Regions from separate parts of the Homo sapiens genome. Here all the other regions are linked to region 3. The links are contacts of gene promoters, found by promoter capture Hi-C in human tissues and cell types (Jung and others, 2019). All regions are on one chromosome and are shown on one strand. Each heading gives the region's core, a stretch centred on a gene start or on the middle of the fragment in contact. The rest is flanking DNA. Distances are from core to core; before and after follow the strand shown.

Region 1 (3,073 bases), core at 385-2,884, 430 kb before region 3:
TACCACGTGTTCTCACTTGTAAGTGAGAGCTAAATGATGAGAATATATGGACACATAGAGGAGAACAATGCACATTGAGGCCCATCAGAAGGTGGAGGTTGGGAGGAGGGGGGAGGATCAGGAATAATAACTAATGTTTACTAGGCTTAATACCTGGGTGACGAAATAATCTGTAAACAAACCCCCATAACACAAGTTTATCTATGTAACAAACCTGAACATGTACTGCTGAACTTAAAACCTTTTAAAAAATAATTAAAAAAAGAAATTGTGGTATATATTTAATACATACAATGGAATACAATTCAGCCTTTAAAAAGAAGGAAATCTGCCAAATGCAACAAATTTAGATGACTTTGAGGACACTATGATAAGTGAAAGAAGTCAGTCACGGAAGGACAAATACTACATGATTCCACTTATATAAGGTTTCTAAAATAATCTCAAAGAAAGAGAGTAGAATGGTAGTTGACAGGGGATGGGGTTAGGAGGAAATTGGGAGTTGTCAATGAGTATAAAGTTTCAGTTATGCAAGATGAATAAGTTATAGAGATGTGCTCTACAACACAGTGCCTACAACTAACAATACTGTGTTGTGCACGTAAAAATTTTGTTAGGAGGGTAGATCACAGGTTAAGTGTGCTTACTACAAAAACAAACAAAAAAGAGCATAGGGAAACTTTTGGAGGTGATGGATGTGATAACTACTTTGACTGTAGTGATGATTTCAAGGGTATATGCGTTTGTCCAAACTCATTAAATTGTGTATATGAAATATGTGCAGTTTTTTGTGTATCAGTTATATCTCAATAAAGTTGTTTAAAAATAGGCACTTGTAACCACAGCCTATGAACAGAATTTTATTCCAGAGTGTTTTCTGATGTTTTTATCCATCAGTCGAAATTCTACATTTTAGCAGAATCTCTTCCTTTTTTATCTTGAATGTGGGTACAGTTAATACCTTAATTTTTTAAATACTGAAAATTCACTGTGTTGATACCTTATTTTAATTAGCAAAACTTTTAAATAATCCATATTTAAAGTAATTGTTTCAAATTTTAAAATAAACACATATTGCTAATTTTAAAATAAACACATATTTTCCCAACTATATCTGAAGTTGAAACAATAACAACAACAAAAATTAGCTAAACTAGGAAAGGGAGAGATTTAGTTTTCCTCCATGTGCCATGATGGTACTTTTTCACTTGAGATTTCCAAGAAGTCTAAAGTAATAGAAATATCTTTAATCTGACAACTTTAAATGCCTTCTGCATATGTCAAGGAAATGAAAATGCCAAATGATCCACCAGAAATCCCTGCAATGTAAAGCACTATTAGTGGTAAGAACAGCCTCATTAACTGTTGTTGATTTGTGACTATTTGGGAATCCAACTCTGCTGAGGGAGTAAGGGAGACTTTTTTTTTTTTTTGGCTGGCTAAAGGTTTCTTTTCTGCCACCCCTGAGTCAACCTGCTTTATTTTATTTTTTCCAAAACCACCATAAAGCGAAGTTTTGAAAAAGACTTCTTGGAGAAAATGTCTTGAGGAGGGAAGAAAGGATGAGTAGAAAAATAGCATGATCAGCCATGCAGCATTTATATTTCCAAAAACTGTATATATTACTGGAAGATTGAGTTTCTTCCTTCCTTTATGTATTCACCTAAAATTTAGACCAATTAATATGTTATTTAAGTATCTATAATTCATGTTACTGGATTAACCCATGGTGCTGGACATTATAAAAATATTCAGAAAGAAAATTTTGAAAGCAGTTACTTCAGATGGCATTTTATAGGCCTGGGAAGTCGCTGAAGAGATAATAATAATAAATATGAAATAGTTAAATAAAGCCAAGTATGTAATAAATTAAGTCATATAGTTATATGCTTTGATATAAAGTATTATCAAAACTAATTACATAGGACTTAAGTTGTCCCTGAGGCAGAATAGAGAAGACAAGGAAAGGCATCCTAAGCCCTTCAAATAGCAGACCAAGATAAACAGACAAGGAAATTCTCATGAAAAATTTTAAAATGGACTATGAAAATCTTTATCTATCTCTTTCGTTTGATCAGAAGACACTGGAAACCCCCAAGGAAATTCATTATGAGAACCCAAATGGTTATAGCAGTAGTAATAGTAGTGGCCATGACTCTTTAAGCTATATGTATGCATAATTTGATAAAACTGAAAAATGAAGAGTCAAAATTTATAGACCATGGTGAATTTTTGAATAGAAGAATGACAAGCTTGTTCTGTGTTAAAAAAACAAAAAACAACTTTCTGTTGGCACTGCAAAAAGAATGAATAATGAAGGAAGAAGAGGGAAATCAATTAGAATTGTATTTCCCTAGGCTAAAGGGAATATGTATCCGAAGATTTGAACCAAGTTAGTGTCAGTGGAACTAGAAGAAAAGGGGACAATTTAGGAAACAATTCAGATATAGAATCACCAAAAGTTGGAGATTAATTGGCTACAGGCATGCAAAGGAAGATGTTTAAGATAATTTAGAAGGATGTTTAAGATAATTTGGAGGTTTTTTCACCTGAGTTAGTAGGTGGAGCTGCTCTCTGGAAGAAGATAGTAAGTTCAGTTTGAAATAAGTTGAATTTGTCCATTTCTCTATTTTAATTCATAAGAAAAATGTTACATATGATTATATAACATTTTTATGTATAATTATATATTTTTGTGCATATATACATTATATATATAAAATATGTATGTATTCATTGGAGAGAGACACTAATACCTTGGTTATATATATTGCAAGTTATATGTATTACATTTATGCATAATTATATATTTTATGTATATATTATATACATTATACACATTATATACATATATATATTCTAGAGAGACACTAATCACTTGTTTGTTATATATATTGCAAGTATCATCTCCCAGTGGTTTATCTTTTCACTTTATGGTGATTTTTGATGAAGGGAAGTTCTTAATCTTAATCTTAGAATTTATTTGACTTTCGTTTTTCTTTTTTTTTTTTTTTTGGAGACAGGGTCTTGTTCTGTCACCTAGGCTGGAGTGCAGTGGCACAATCATAGCTCA
Region 2 (3,287 bases), core at 505-3,004, 460 kb before region 3:
CAATGGCCTAAAGCAAATGGTGAAGCCAGGATTGGCACCTAGAGAGGCTAACAGTAGGGGTTAAGCCCTTATCCACTACCCCAGAACGCCCTAAAGATATCTACATGACAAAATTTAGCACAGACTAAATGAGTATGATACATTCTTGCAGTTAGTGGTAATAGTACAATGCTCTTTCTCCCTAACAGTCTACTTGTACCTAGATTGGCTAAAGAACTTTGGTATTTTTCACATAACAAATCACTTTTTATCCTCAGAGATGCTCAGCACTTTGCCTCTCATACATAATGCATGATTATGAAGAGAGTACAGGAATTATTTTAAGATGTAATTCTTCATTCTTTAGTTAAACATTATTAATATTCATGTTATTTATGCTCAAGGTTATTTTTTCCTCATTGCTAAAAACATGAGCCATTTTAAAATTATACCCAACTGCAAGTTCTCCAATAAGAAATATCATGATGTATTTACAAGGTGGAAATTATATTTTAAAAAATAAAATAACACTATGTCTTTTAGGCTGCCTAGGCTAATGAAAATACTTTGATTTTAGTCCAGCCAGGATATATCACTGGCAGCTCCAGAATTAGTTTACCTTTTTCCTCAGAAGCTTTAACTTATCACCTTCTGCAATCTACTGTCTGGGAAGTCAAGAATGCAAACTGCATTTCATATCCTTTACACCTCGAGTTTATCTCCCCCCATTTAGATGATGTGATATTCTGCCAAAATTGCAGGATTTAAATGCATTCAGCAGCCTTAGTTCAAGTAACTAATTTTCTCTAAGAAGTTTTTTTTCTTTTTCTTTTACATCAGACATCAGCAGGATATCACTGTATAAACATAAACTGTTAAAGACAGTTTTCAGATTTCAATGACATCATTTTTCTGCCCCACTTAGGAGGTTTTATTTATTTTTAAAAATCATTTTATTTTTATTCTAATAACCAATCACATGGTTTTAAGTGCCCAGTTCAGAGTCTAAAATGGACAATACTTATTAAAGATTTTATTCACATAAAACTAAATCTTTAAAGTATTTATTTGTCTATGAATAGAATTCCTTTGTGCCCTTACCTTGAAAAGGTGGTAAGAACATAGCTAAAAGTCCTGGTTTTCATTTACTTTGATCTCACAAACTTTCCAGAAACCAGAAACATCAAAATATGATCTTTCAATAATATTAACCTGTAGTAGAAAGAAATATGGTTTGAATAGACAAAAGGCCTGTCAAAGTGAAGCCATTGTAGGATTTGGAATTTGTCCCATAAAGACTGAACACAACTAAAAATTACATGAACCTAACTTTAGGGCTGGTGGTGGTGTTTTAACTTCAACATCAGGTCATCACACCAAGACCAATATCTATCAGATGCCCTAACCATTTCTTTCTTGTACTCTTCTCTCTCTCTTTTTTTTCCCCCTGTTGTCTGATTCCTCATCTGGCAGTTGATTTCAGATCTCTCCTTCTGCAAAGAATTCCCTTAGTACACGGTACTTACCTGAGGCAGCTGGCCCCACCATGTGTTTCCGATGCTTGGTAACAGACAGAGTACGGTCCTTTGATTCAAATGAGAAAGGTGCAAGCTTTCAGCAAAATGACTTTCCCTTCCAAACTCATTTCAAAGAAGTTTAAAAATAATATAATGTTAACAAGAAAATGTGTTTTAATGCACAGTGAGTAAGGAAACTCAGATTCAGTTAGGGTGGGATGAAACCCCATTGCCCTTTTCTCTATCTCTCCTCTCAACAAGGGGTCCCATTGTAGGTGCATTTATGACAAGTGGGAAGCAAAGCAGGTTAAATAAAGCTCCATCATCCTAGCCAGAAGATCAACTTTGGGAACATCAGGAAACTAGAAAGTGCTAGGAACAGGAAGGATCTTGGGAAAGTAACCCCATAAAATTATTTATGAACTCCTAGGCTTTTTCTCAAGTTGTATATGCATCGATTGGATCCTAAACAGCTTAACAAACACTATGAGAACTGAACTATGAGATAGGTTCTAGAATGGCCATTGGGTGGTGTGTACATTGGACAGATCAGAAAAGTACTTACAAAGGCTTTGAGAATGAAGCTTACATTGGAACTGCAATTCACAGAAGGCTGGACAGAACTTGTGAGCTAGATAAAATTGGGCCAATTGCCTGCTAAAACAAAAAATATCAACATTCTCCATAGGATTTAAACAAAACCAAGGGTTGCATAATGTAACATTCAAAATATCCAGCCTACAATCTAAAATTATTTGTCATATAAAGAACTAGTAAATCTCAATCTGTATGGAAAAAGACAACCAATAGACAGCAACACTGAAGTGACACAGATGTTGAAATTATCTTACAAAGACCTTATAATAAATAAAGGAGAGCACTCTAGGAATCAAAGAAAAGATTAAAATTCTCAACAACAAAAAAGGGAAGAAGATACTGGGAGAAAGATAACAGAGCCTCATTTTATAGTAATATGTCAAAAGATCTAATACTTGTGCCATTAGAATACCAAAGAAGAGAAAGAGTCCAGTGCTAAAATTTTTTTGAAGATATGATGGCTGTAACTTTGAAAATATGGTGAAACATGTAGATGTACAGATTCAAGAAGCCCAGGAATCCTAAACAAGAGAAACTCAAAGAAATCTATCATAATTAAACCGCTAAAAATTAAGACAAAAAATCTGAAAGTAATCAGAGTAGATGACATATTATTTATAAGAAAACACTTCAGATTAATTGGAAAACATGGAGGTCAGATGCAATTGAATACATTTTAAAGAACTACAACTGTTAACCCAGACTGCTCTACTGTACGCAGTGAAATAGCCTTCAGAAAAAAAAGGTGAAGAAAATGCTTTCCCAATAGAAGACAAATTAAGAGAATACATTATCAGCATATCCATTCTGAAATAATTGATAACAGATATTTCACTGACAGAAAGTAAAATGATAACAGAAGGAAATTTGGAACCATCAGTAATAAAGGAAGAGCAATAGAAATGATAAATATCTATGCAAACATATTATTATATGTGAATATATTATTTTTTCTTCTCATGTTCTTTACATTATTATTGTCATAAGCCTTCTCAAGTGGCTCCCAATGTGGTCCATCCTTACTGGTATTCATGCCCTTGTGTAAATCCCTTTCCTTGAGTGTGGACTAAACCTAATAACTTGATTCTAACAAACACAGCTTGAGCATCCCTAATCTGAAAACTCAAAATCTGAAATGGTCCAAAATTTGAAATTTTGAGTGCCAACATGATGCCACAAGTGGAAAATTCCACA
Region 3 (3,289 bases), core at 440-2,939:
AGAGACCTTGGACAGACTTCCTAAAAATACTGCCAAGGAAACTGAGACCAAGAAAATTGCCCAAAGTGACGCAGGTGATTAATGGTAGCGCTACCTCTGCTTGGTCTTGTGTTTACTTTTGCCTTTAAATATTTTAAAAGACACTGATGACCACTGATCTTGAATGGATCTCAAAGCTTTGCAAGGAGGCAGGGGGGCTTACTTAGGGAAGACTTCCTTTCTCCCATAGATTTAACTCCTTTATAAGTATAATTCATTTGTTGTGTGCATATATGACTATATTTGGAAAGAAGTAGTATTTATGGTGCTGAAGAGATATTCAGCATCATATCAAGATGATCAAGAAATATCAAGTTATGCCAAACACTGGGGCCACTCCCTACACTGAAATGTTTCCAAATTCTGTGATAAAAATCAAAGGCTCAAAAGTCAAGAAACAGATCCACTGTTTCTGCAATGTGTTTTGTGAACTCTATTTGTGCCCTGTGGGCCAGTCTCAGTGATGGATTTTCTTATCTATGAAATGGGACCAATGACCTCAACTCAGATTTACTTGGGTGTTCTCAGGCATGCATCAAAGGCATACTGCTGAAATTCTTAGCACATAAATACCACTATGTAATAGTGAGTCTGTAAAATAGTTATGAATAGGCAATAATGGAATAGTTAATAAATATGAGTATTGCAATATTCTTTTTATATGATTGTCTTTTAAGTCATCAAATTTCTGAACATCTTCTGAAACTGAAGGAATAGAAAAGGGAATTTAAATAGTATAAAATGCTATCATAATAATATGGTAACTGCGGGCATATCTATAGACATTCATACTGCCACGGTTAGTGGCATAAATTCTTATCTTTTGCTTAAGGAATAAATACATTTTTTCCTACAGTAGTGAATGCAGGACAGATTTCACCAGAATGAAATTGGATGGCATCAAGTCTATTTAATGTAACACTTTGTTAAACAGAATATTTTCCCCAAACCCAAAGCACCTAAAAGTTTAATTCAGGAGACTTTGGAAATGAGAGGAGGATTAAGAATGAAAAATACTTTAGTGGGAAGTGAACTTTTTAAAATTATTTTTAAAGAATCAAGGCCCCAACTTCTTCAGCACTTCAGGCAACGGATCACAGGTTTTTGTTTTATTGGAGAAGAAACAAAGTAAATAACAGTTCTGAGGATGAACAAAAGCTGTTGGGAATACCCATTTCACTCCTCAAAGTGGGGGCGCGTTTTATGAATAATTTCAGCCGGCTAACATACCTTCCTGCAAAACACAGACAAGATGTAAATTAAAAAGTGGCAGAGTTGTGGCATATTGCAAAAGTTTAAAGGGAGTCATCAGTCCTTCAGTCAGATCTCCCTGCAGAAAGGTTGGCGCTGAGGTTGGAACTGACCCTAGAGGGCTGGAGAGGACCCCTTGGGGGTGAGCAGCCGGGTTCTGGGACCCAGCAAGGTCAGGGGGCGTCTCCCCAGCTACTCTTTATCTATCCCCCGCACTCTGGAAAGCCCGAAGAGGATTCGCTCCAAGTTAGGCGCGCTGTTGGCTGTCAACGTTCTTTAGGACCTCAGGGAAACCGGGACGTTTCTGGCTTTAGGACCCAGGAACTCCGAGGCAGCCTAGACTTAGATGCCTTGGACCACAGCACCACCTACTTATAGAAGCATCCCAAGCCTCAGCCGGTCTGCATCTCCATCGGAAAGTGCGCTTGCCACATCCCTTCGGATCACTTCGTCCTCCCGAGAGCGTTCTGCCTTCTACAGCTCGGAAAGAAAGAAATCTTAGCTGTGAAGTGACCGTGGAGAAAGCGCAGGAAGCGACACAATTGGTTAGGGAGGCAGAGAGTGTGAGCGGGCGCACCCCTTGCCTGGGGACCGCGCTCGCGGGCGGGGACGGAGCATCCCAGTGGCTGCACCCGCCGCTCCGCGCTCCTGCCTGGCGTCGCCAACCCCGCGGCGGCCGCTGGAATTCCAGAGCTGCCAGGCGCTCCCAGCCGGTCTCGGCAAACTTTTCCCCAGCCCACGTGCTAACCAAGCGGCTCGCTTCCCGAGCCCGGGATGGAGCACCGCGCCTAGGGAGGCCGCGCCGCCCGAGACGTGCGCACGGTAGGCAACCCACACCAAGGCAGCCGCAGCTGCGGCGCTTGGGTACACCGCCGTGGACTCCAAATGGCCTAAGAGCGTTCTTTTAGCCCTGCGCTCTCAGTGCCTTTAGAGTTCTTTCCTTTCCCCGGAGCGCCGGCACAACGCATTATGCCGCTGGGTCGGAGCTTAGGGCTCGGCAGAGGTTGCTAATTCACTGATTATAATCACCTTCCTCTCCAACTCGTCCGCAGCTGCCCGCTCTGGATTAAGCCGCTCCGCGGCTCGTGCTAGGCAGTGGGTTCGCTTCCTCCTTCCCTCTCTTCTTTAAATTGGGACGTGCGAAGGCGCAGCTGCCTCCCCGGGGCTCTCTCCATCCCCCACACACCCTGTTTTCGCTTCTTGTCTCTCAGGTTCGTGGCGGAGAGATGCTGATCGCGCTGAACTGACCGGTGCGGCCCGGGGGTGAGTGGCGAGTCTCCCTCTGAGTCCTCCCCAGCAGCGCGGCCGGCGCCGGCTCTTTGGGCGAACCCTCCAGTTCCTAGACTTTGAGAGGCGTCTCTCCCCCGCCCGACCGCCCAGATGCAGTTTCGCCTTTTCTCCTTTGCCCTCATCATTCTGAACTGCATGGATTACAGCCACTGCCAAGGCAACCGATGGAGACGCAGTAAGCGAGGTGGGTCCCTCTCTGCCAAAGGTGCGTGGTGGGCTTCAGGGGTGGCGTGTGGAGGCGCTCACTCACGCCCTGGCTCCGGGGGCTCAGATGGTCAGGGCTGTGCTCTCCACCCCAGCTTTTGCGGGTCCCCAGTCCCCACCTTTAGGACCCTGGAGCTCTACAAAACACTCTGTTTTCTGTACCCTGGAGGCGCGGGGAGCCGGAGCGAGACGCGCTGGGAGCTCGGCGAGCCGGGCGCCAATCGGGCGCTCAGGGCTAAGTCGTGCGGTCCGCACTCATGTTCGCCGCCCCACCTCCTCATCTAAACTTGTCTCTTTAGGACGTATTTCTTATCTGACATGCATTTTTTTTTTGTCGTCGTTGTTCTTCTCTCTGTCCTCCTAACCATCTTCCCTGTAGCTCATTTGTTTTATCTTCCCCATCCACGTGCGCCCCAAACCCGGCCTCAGATCTCTTCGGACTTGACCTAGCATAGTGTGTGTGTGGTGTGTGGGTGTACCCAAGCGTGTGTCTGTATTCCGGAGC
Region 4 (3,028 bases), core at 293-2,792, 500 kb before region 3:
CCATATTTTAAAAATTTGTATTTTTCCAAGGCATTTTTGACCTATATACCGTTTTCTGTGTCACACAGCCATGCATTATTACATGGGCTTGTGGTAACCAGACATATTCATTTTTCCTTTTATTTCTTATAGAGTTACCAGTGATGTGTATGCCTGTGTGATCAGCTTCAGTAGTTTCGGTTTGGGATAGGGGCTCCTCAAGTGGCAGAGAAAATTCTGTCCATTGGTATATTGTTTTTGTTTTTTAATAAAGTTTGGCAGAACAAAATAAGGCTTCTCTGTAAAATATAACAATGCCAAGTTTACACAGCACTCACTTTTGAATTAACCTACAAAGTTTTGGGTTATTTAAAACCAGTTATTTAATGACTTCTCTCTGATAGACATTCTAGAGAGTCTACGGACTAAGAAGATTTTGGCTTGTATATACTAAGAGAACTGACAAAAAGCACTGAGCTGAAGCGAAGAAGTACAAGTCAGAAAGGCCACTGCTAAGAGAACAGATTTGAGTAACTTTTAAATGTTTTCACCAGCAAAAAAGGTGATGTTCGTGGATAATGCCTATGTTAATTAGCTTTATTTAGCCATTCCACAATGTATATGTACATCAAAACATCATGTTGTTTCAAGATCCCTTGGAAAGGAGAAAGTGTGAAATTACTCCAGAGACAAATGCCAGAGGCCACATGAGGAAGAGCACGGACTGTGGAAGCAGGCTGCCGAGTTTGAATGGCAGCTTGGATGCCCACTAGTTACCTGACCTTGGGCAACTTTACCTTTCTGTGCTTCACTTTCTTTCTGTACAAAAAGGGGGTGGTGAGAGCATCTACCTTGTGGGGTTCATGATCAATGTACAAATCCCCAGTTTTCAAAAAAAAATCATGTTTTATACCATAAATACATACAGTTTTTAGAAATAGCAAATAGTTTACAACAAACAAAAACAAGCCAGAAAGAGCATATTTCTGTCAATTACCTATGCTCGTTCACAAGCAGGCAGGGCTACTTTTCTTCACAGTTTGATGTCACCAACCTTCTGATTGTGGCCCCCTGTCTGGAAAAAAAGGGCATTTTTGTGTTCTTATACCATGTGTGAGAACACACCTCCCATGTGAATTTGGTGGTAGCCCTCAGTACAATCCCCTCCATTCTTCCCAGCCTTCCACATATACAAAGCTTCTGCTTTGTGGTCCCTGTGGCACTTTTGTGAATCTGGGGACACTCCAAGTGAATGACTCAGAATGTTTCAGCAGCCAAAACCAGGGCACTGAGCATCTCTGGCCCAGCTGCAGAAACAGCCTGCCATTAGCCAGGTTCTCCTGGAATCTATCCTTCGCCCCCAGATAAACAAAAAGGAAACATAAAGTTTTCACATCACAGCTTGCAACCAAGGGAAATTGTGAAGCAAAGTCTCCCTCTGCAACTCCTTCTGCAGCAGAATTCCAATCCCCTTGACACCAGGCTGGGACTAGAGCTCTGAAAGGAGTGTAAAGCAGCAGAAAGAACACTGTCCTGCAGACTGGGTGCTGGTCCTAGTTCTGCCACCAACTTGCTCCATGACCTTGGGCAAGCCACTGCAATTCTCAGATGTTCAGAAGCTTCACTGTCAAACAAGAGTGGACTCTATGCTTTCTGAGTTTCTTCTGGCTCAGGTATTGCAGGATTCTCTGAGTTCCTGATTAACTGGTTCTTACTAATGTATTACATTATTGTACATTGTAAACAAAAAGCCTCATCATTTATTCTGCCTGTCTCCCATGAGATAGAGAGCACTTTGGGGACAATGTCTGTACTGTCCATTTATGCCCTAAGACCAAGTATAATGTCTGACACATAATAGGTACTCAGGAAAGGGGGCCCAGCTATTTCTTGGCTAGCCAGCAGCTGTAACTGAAGGTCATTTAAGAAGGGAGGATGCTACAGCTGATTTTCAGCAGAAGAGTTACTGTAGAACAGGCCATACTCTGTATTGCATTTCAAATCTTATTTCAGTGGCACTGACTCTACCACTTTATGATCAGCTTTAATTCATCACATTAATATGTTTATCAGTATAATCCATATGTCTATTTGCTTTGTTTTATTTTCAATTTTCTCAACACAAAATGTGTGGGGGAAGGGAGAAAAAACTCCCCTTATGTTGTTAACATTTCAATTTGGAAGTGCTTTTCTTGCTGTGTCATTTAAACAGATCTCACCTTCCAAAAGTAAAAACTAGCCAGAGATGCTATTCTTCATACCCTAGCCCTTCTCTACTAGCTAGTACTGCAATGTATTAATTGGGTTCATTAATTAGTTAATTTGTTAATCAACGGACTTAATGGAAGAAATAATATTACAAAGAAAACATGAGAAAGCAAGAAAACCTGTTGAATCAATAACTTTGGTGGGTCACTAAATAATATTGTGTCCAAATTTCATTACCATTGCCCAGGCTTCTGACAAGTAAACTGTGGCAGTCAACGTGCCAGATTCCCCAAATTAAACATACTTCTTCATAATTAAATATCACAGCTTCATTGTTCCGATAACAAAATTGAAATATTTTCCACCACGATAACATCCTTAGCAGTTAATGTCATTGGAATAGAATGATGTTACCACATGATAATAGGCTCTCAATGCCAAAGTCAAGTTAGACTGTTTATTTTCAAAGCAGATCATTACATTGACTTTTTTTCCATTACCAAGTGATTGATGTAGCTTTAAAGGTGACCAACAAAAATTTCACAAAAAAATGATCTAACGATGGGGTTATGTGCTGAATGATTCAAATACCAAGGGAGATGCCACATATAGCAGCATAGAATCCATTTAAAAATTAACCTTTACCAAACCTTCAGCAGCAGTTTTGCTCTGCAAAATGAGAGCAGCTGCCAGAGGCTCCAAAAGTACCTCAAAACACAATAAAAGCTTGTGTTGACATAGTCCATTTGTCGATAACTATGGAATTCTGGAATAGAACACCTGCCAACAGAGGAACCTGGTGTACAACTAACAGACATGAGCCAACTTATCTTGACAAGCA

What was found. Contacts are between HindIII fragments. The study calls those that stand out against the background at their distance.
Region 1: a fragment that was not itself captured here is called in contact with the fragment with the promoter of RSPO2 in region 3 in 2 of the 25 tissues and cell types used here (H1 embryonic stem cells and mesendoderm cells).
Region 2: a contact is called between a fragment that was not itself captured here and the fragment with the promoter of RSPO2 in region 3, in 2 of the 25 tissues and cell types used here (mesendoderm cells and thymus).
Region 4: a contact is called between a fragment that was not itself captured here and the fragment with the promoter of RSPO2 in region 3, in 3 of the 25 tissues and cell types used here (dorsolateral prefrontal cortex, hippocampus and liver).

Annotation. Positions count from the first base shown.
Region 1 is chr8:108,515,272-108,518,344 of GRCh38, reverse strand. No RefSeq gene overlaps it. Among named protein-coding and RNA genes, the nearest start is that of EMC2, 73 kb to the right of the region's middle. The HindIII fragment of the contact is 4,412 bases long and covers 1-3,073 here.
Region 2 is chr8:108,546,170-108,549,456 of GRCh38, reverse strand. No RefSeq gene overlaps it. Among named protein-coding and RNA genes, the nearest start is that of EMC2, 100 kb to the right of the region's middle. The HindIII fragment of the contact is 4,221 bases long and covers 1-3,287 here.
Region 3 is chr8:108,082,020-108,085,308 of GRCh38, reverse strand. It overlaps RSPO2 (R-spondin 2), which reads left to right and starts at 1,689. Exons shown (of 6, transcript NM_178565.5): 1 at 1,689-2,112; 2 at 2,502-2,764. The coding sequence starts at 2,671. RefSeq lists a silencer at 2,658-2,833 and an enhancer at 2,550-3,289. The HindIII fragment of the contact is 6,606 bases long and covers 1-3,289 here.
Region 4 is chr8:108,584,687-108,587,714 of GRCh38, reverse strand. No RefSeq gene overlaps it. Among named protein-coding and RNA genes, the nearest start is that of EMC2, 140 kb to the right of the region's middle. The HindIII fragment of the contact is 5,052 bases long and covers 1-3,028 here.